Linked DNA regions of Homo sapiens: region 2 is linked to region 1. Evidence: promoter capture Hi-C in human tissues and cell types (Jung and others, 2019). All regions are on one chromosome and are shown on one strand. Each heading gives the region's core, a stretch centred on a gene start or on the middle of the fragment in contact. The rest is flanking DNA. Distances are from core to core; before and after follow the strand shown.

Region 1 (3,322 bases), core at 624-3,123:
TGAGGCTGCAGTAAGCTATGATCATTAGTGCACTCCCCTCTGGGTGACAGAGTGAGACCTTGTCTCAAAAATAAATAAATAAATAAATAAAAAATATATTCATTTTGATCATCTTGAGAATAGTCTGACAAAGTTTATTGCTAACTAGATGAATCCTGAAATTCTTGGTGGTGATGGTTCTAGAGATAAAAAGTATGAAGCAAGCCTGAGCCTATTAAGTGCTTTATCCTTTATGTACCAGTATCAAACTGTGTTGCTATTTATGTTCCTGAATGAGATAGGAATTTCTTCAGATTCAGAGAAGGGAAAATGACAGAAACGACAACAAAAATGAGAACTACACTTTTTTTTTTTTTTTTTTTTTTTGAGGCGGAGTCTCGGTCTGAGGCCCAGGCTGGAGTGCAGTCGCGCGATCTCGGCTCACTGCAAGCTCCGTCTCCCGGGTTCACGCCATTCTCCTGCCTCAACCTCTGGAGTAGCTGGGACTACAGGCGCCCGCCACCACGCCCGGCTAATTTTTTGTATTTTTAGTAGAGACGGGGTTTCGCCGTGTTAGCCAGGATGGTTGCATCTCCTGACCTCGTGATCCGCCCGCTTCGGCCTCCCCAAGTGCTGGGATTACAGACAGACGTAAGCCACCGCGCCCGGCCTCTGAGAACTACACTTTTAAAACAGCCCATGGTCACGCGTTTTGAAGGGCTGGGGAAATACTGAGGGATTTTACCTGCTTTTGGGGTGGGGGGTGGGGGCAGAACAAGAAAATCTGATTGAAGACAGCATGAAGTATCAAAATAACCCTTGGCCACTTTGGCTAGTGCCCGTAGGAATATAAACAGGTGGGCCACAAATCCAAGCCTTGATGAATGACCTATGCCAGCACCAATTTCCTCCCTCCTTCTGGATCAGAGCCTGTTTCCTTCCAAAGTGGTGGACCCCCGAAATCTTACAGGCTTTTTTTTTTTTTTTTTTTTCCTCTGTCTCACTCTGTCGCCCAGGTAGAGATCAATGGCATGATCTCGGTTCATTGCAACCTCTGCCTCCCGGGTTCAAGCGGTTCTCTTGCCTCAGCCTCCTGAGTAGCTGGGACTACAGGCAGCCGCCACCATACCCGGCTAATTTTTTTAATTTTAGTAGAGACGGGGTTTCACCATGTTGGCTAGGCTGGTCTCGAACTCCTAGCCTCATGTGATCCGCCCGCCTCGGCCTCCCAAAGTGCTGGGATTACAGGCGTGAGTCACCATGCCCAGCCGAGTCTAACTTTCTTTACGATTTCCTGGGGTCCCAGCTGGACGGAGTCTCATCCCTGCCCCCCTTACTGGGAGGAAAAGGGAATGCACCTCCTCCATGAGCCTCAGCTGCACTTTGAGGCACCTGGAATCCCCGGATGTGGAGCGAGTCTCTGAAATGCAGAACCCGAGGGGCCAACCCATGGACTGTGATGGGTAAAAGGGGAGAGAGCACTAAAGAGGCCAAGTAGGGAGGACATTATCCCTTTCCCCTTTTATTATTATTTTTTGTTAGAAAAAGGCAGGTGGACATATTTAGCTTGCGAAGCTTGCACAAGGAAAATCCAGAGCGTCTCCAGAATAAGGATCCCACGAGAGAACGTGGACACAAGTAGGCCCTCAGCCAGCCTTGTACCCACAGGCCCAACAGGCCACTTGGCTATGAGGCCAGAGCGTCGCCATAGGGGCCCGAACGCTAGCGTTTAGGGAATCCGCAGGCTAGAAGTGGAGGCGGGACGCCACTGGTCGTCTGAGCGCTGATTGGCTGGTGGCGCTAGTCACCAGCCAATCGTCAACAGACGCCATTTGTTGTTGGAGCCACGCACCTGACGCAGTGGGCGTCTTGCACGTGCAGCCGTTTAAGTCGCGTGGGCGCCTGCGAGGGCTTGGGAGAGCAAGCCGCGGAGAGGTGAGTGGGCCGCTTTTCTACGGGAACTGGCCTGAACTCGGCCGTACGGGCTCCCCAGTAACCGACCTTTGGCCAAAGTGTGGATGGAGTAGGAGGAGTTTTGAAGCCGTCCTTCGAAGCCTTTCTGCCTCGGGGTCTCAGAGTCCCACGGGTGCCCAAAGTCTGGGCTTGAGGCCTGCAGAGGAGGCGAAGGGGCCTTATTCCTGGCTTCTTCACTGCGTTTTCTCTGAACAGACATGGTCCGAGTACCATTTGTGTACAAATCCTTCTTGATGAAGCTGGTTGTCCTTTGTCGGCAGGATTTGGGCAACCATACCCTTCTTCCCTTCCCCACTAAAATCCAAGGCCTCCCTCTTCACCGAGTCGCCGCCCCCCTACCCAGTCGACTCCCGTACCCCTGTCCCCGCCCCCACGCACGCCACAAACACCCCAAAGCAAACATCCTATCCACCTTGGATGTTAATCATGCGAAGGGAGAAATCTTAAGTAGTTTCTGAAAAAAGTTGCCTCTCCCTTAATATTCAGTAAGTCGTTTGGGGACCCTTTGAGGGAGGAGATAAAGTCTATGAACAGATGTTTGGGAAAAGCCTAAGTCTTGCTGGGGACATGGCGATTGCTAGAATGACTAGGTAAGAGGTTCAACTAGTTTCTAAAGCTAAGAAAGGATGGAGATAAATGCCACCTTTAGATAAGAAGAGACCTAATTCCTTCTTTGGAAAAAACTTTTGGGGTATCAGCACCTAGTTGGGTAGTTTCAAGATGTATGTGAAACAATGAGTTTATGCTTTTAAAGTTATGATTCTGATCTAATTGAGTCCAAATGTGCATTTTTTTTTTTTTATGAATAGAACTTGAAGCCACCATGGGAGATGAAGATTGGGAAGCAGAAATCAACCCTCATATGTCTTCCTATGTTCCCATATTTGAGAAGGTAATAACATTTAAAGTTTAGTTATTAAATGCTACGGATTTTATCAAAGTTGAAAATCACTGTGGTGAGAGTTCTAAATTATACAGTCTGTGTCAGTGTTTATCTCCATGTGATTGTTATTAACTATTATATGGGGAATAAGAGACAACCTAAGCCTCGTATAGGATACAATAGCTTGAGGCAATTTGATAATTAAAAGCTAAAATAGATGTAAAAATATTAATGACCTAATTTAAATCTCAATGATTTAGGACTTCCTCAGGTGAAAGCAAACTTGGGCAAATGTGGTTGATATCAGTGAAAGACGCTTGTATGGAAAATTGAAAACAATAATTACGTTTTGGGAGATATTTTAAATTCTGAAAATTGATTTTGTGCAAGGAGGGTTCTCAGGATAAATGATACTAGGCTGATTGAGTTGGTAACATCAGTTTGTATGAATCTTCAGATCTTTTTTCTTAATGGCATTTGGGGAGT
Region 2 (3,128 bases), core at 196-2,695, 50 kb after region 1:
TTGCAGGACGAGATTTGATGGCTTGCGCTCAAACAGGGTCTGGGAAGACTGTAAGTCTTTCCCCACATGTCCAAACTGTTAGGTTTTTTGAGCTTTGGTTCTTCCTTAGTAACTTGGTTTCTTCTTTTGAGTAGAAGGTTTGTAGATGGTTTCAGTTACCTGTCATAAGTATTGATGGTTTTGCTTCTGATTTTTATTAGGATTTGTGTACTTCGGAAGAAAGAATTCTGAACTATTCCTGGGGTGGTGTTGCTGTCCATAGATGTTTAATCTTTTCTGTGTGCAGCTCTTTCTGAAACATGGTAGTATCTTAAACAAAGTGACTGAAAGTCAAAGCAGAGCTTATAAAACAGAGAGGGAGAAAGTAATTTCTGTATTATAGCTGGTACACTCGAAGTCAAAAGATTAAAGAATGAGAAACAGTTATGCATTGTGCATGATTCCTTAGTATTCAGTGACCTCAGGTTATGCTAATTATAAAAGAAGTCTGATGAAACCAGTTGGTTTTAGGACTAATCTGGGAGATTTGTGTGTTAATTAACGACTCCATAAGATGAGACTCTTATTTCTATGATCATAGAGTCCATGAGGTCATACCATTTTAGTCTTAATCAGCCTTCATAGTAGAATTGTAGGGAAAAACAGGTATTGTATAGCAGCTGATGAGAGTGTTAAACGTGGTTTTGGAGGTGGATTTTAGCAAGTGTCTTATTTGCTTAAATGAGAAAACTGTAGCACAAAATTTCTGTTGCCAGATGTAACTTCAATAAGGGTAATGTGTTCAGTAATACAGATGATGATTTCTAAGTTTTTACTCTGTGGGCCACTTTTGTCATCCATTCTGAATGATAATTTTATGACCTCAAAAGGACTAACTTAGAGTAATTGTTCACTGTAATGATTTGCAGCGATTACATCTATCATATTCCTCTATAAATATGCTAATGTTGTTGATCTGTTTAGAATTCGTGGGTATGCTTTTGAAAATACACTGAAAAACTTTGATAGGTTAGATTAATTTTACCAAATTTTATATTGTATAATAAGAGCATAAAGACATAAATGTTAAGAACACCTTGAAATGAAAGTTGTTTTCATTTCTCATCTTAAATTTACCAGTAAGATGGAAGTAGAGTCTAAAGGCTATAAGGACATGAGGATTAGCTTTCCATAGGGATAAAAGTGTTGTGCTATAAGTTTGTAAACTAAGCAACTTAACTTCTAGGCGGCTTTTCTCCTACCAATTTTGGCTCATATGATGCATGATGGAATAACTGCCAGTCGTTTTAAAGAGTTGCAGGAACCAGAGTGTATTATTGTAGCACCAACTCGAGAATTGGTCAACCAGATTTATTTGGAAGCCAGAAAATTTTCTTTTGGGTAAGTACATCAGAGTGCTACTCACAAAATAGTTTTTTCTTTAGAGATTTTTTTCCCCTCACTTTTGGAAGAACTCAGTAATAATGCACTCATGTAATTTTTAGCATTACTTAAAGTATTTTTTTATTATCTTGTTTATGGAATCCTTTTCATTTTTGAAAAGAAATATGCTTATTAAAAATTAGGTTAATAGGTTGGACTTGGTGGCTCATGACTATAATCCCAGTGCTTTGTGAGGCCCAGGCAGGCAGACTGCTTGAGGCCAGGAGTTCGAGACCAGCCAGGGTAACATGGCAAGACCCCATCTCTACAAAAAATAAAATAACTAGCCAGCATGTGGTGATGCACACCTGTTGTCCTAGGAGTTTAGGAGGTTGAGGCAGAAGGATTGTTTGAGTCCAGGAGTTTGAGGCTGCAGTGAACTGTGATTGCACCACCACACTCAGAGCGAGACCCTGTCTCCAAAAAAGTAAAATTTTAATTTAAAAAACAGATAATACTAGAAGTAGAAAATAGTGAACATACTGGTATTATTTCTTGGTAGTTTTTAATGTATATTTAAAAATGAACTCAGGGTATTCTAATAATTTCCTATTCTTTTACATAAAACTTTATAACACAGAAAATTCTTATTTCATAATAAGAACTGATTTTTAATGACTTTTAAATTGCCCATGTGTATACATTTTATTTCTCTGTTCTGAGGTATTTAGGTTCTTTCTAACTTGGGGCTATTGTAAACAAAATTGCAATGTACATCTTGCTACATAGTTTTTCTGTTTTGGCCAGATATGATGTCTTACACCTGTAATCCTAGCACTTTGGGAGGCCAAGATGGGCAGATAGCTTGAGCCCAGGAGTTCAAGACCAGCCTGGAAAACATGGTGAAAACCCATCTCTACAAAAAAGAACAAAAACTAGCTAGGTGCAGTGGTGCACCCCTGTAGTCCCAGCTACTTGGGAGCCTGAGAGATTACCTGAGCCTGGGAGGTCGAGGCTGCAGTGAGCTGTGATTGCGCCACTGCATTCCAGCCTAGATGACAGTGAGACCTTGACTTATATATAAAAAAAACCAACAGTTTTCTGTTTTAAGTATTTTCTTAGAATAGAGTTTTATCAATTTTAATGTTAAAGAGCAGGAACTTATTTTAAAGCTTGTAATTAATGTATATTTGTGCCTGCAGTCTATCAGAAGTCCAATTTCAGTATACCCTTTGCCAACATTTAGTTATCGCTGCCTAACAAACTCCCTTAAAACATAGTTGCTTTCAACAATAAACATTTACTGTCTCACCATTTTGGGGGCTTAGGAATTGGGGAACAGCTTGGCTTAGCTGGGTCCTTCTGAGTTAAGAGTTTCTTATGAGATTGTAAACGAGATGTCAACCAATTCTGGTTTTATTGTCAACCAGACAAGATGTCAAGGCAGTCATCTGAGGGCTTCATTGGATCTCTCCATAGGGATGCATGATTAAATGGCACTGGCTTCCCCTAGATTAAGTGATCAGTAAGAACAAAGAGGAGGCTGTAATAGCTTTTATGAAATAGTCCCAGAAGTCACACATTGTCCTTCTGCCACATTCTCTTTGTAAGAAGCAAGTCACTAAGTTTGACCCCACTCAGGAGTGGCTATATTATAATTTATTGGAACTAGTGCAAAATTGAAAGTGCAGGGTCCTTTGTTGTAAAATTATTACAAATTTCAAGGCAGCGACAACAGAGCATTAAATGAAACACGGGATTCTTCT

What was found. The method cuts DNA at HindIII sites, captures the fragments that hold promoters and counts their contacts. A contact is called where the count stands out against the background at its distance.
Region 2: a fragment that was not itself captured here is called in contact with the fragment with the promoter of DDX4 in region 1 in 1 of the 25 tissues and cell types used here (pancreas).

What each region holds. Positions count from the first base shown.
Region 1 is chr5:55,736,188-55,739,509 of GRCh38, forward strand. DDX4 (DEAD-box helicase 4) reads left to right here and starts at 1,874. Exons shown (of 22, transcript NM_024415.3): 1 at 1,874-1,914; 2 at 2,763-2,845. The coding sequence starts at 2,777. The HindIII fragment of the contact is 12,969 bases long and covers 41-3,322 here.
Region 2 is chr5:55,786,621-55,789,748 of GRCh38, forward strand. DDX4 (DEAD-box helicase 4) reads left to right here. Exons shown (of 22, transcript NM_024415.3): 14 at 1-50; 15 at 1,226-1,380. Among named protein-coding and RNA genes, the nearest start is that of DDX4, 50 kb to the left of the region's middle. The HindIII fragment of the contact is 6,379 bases long and covers 1-3,128 here.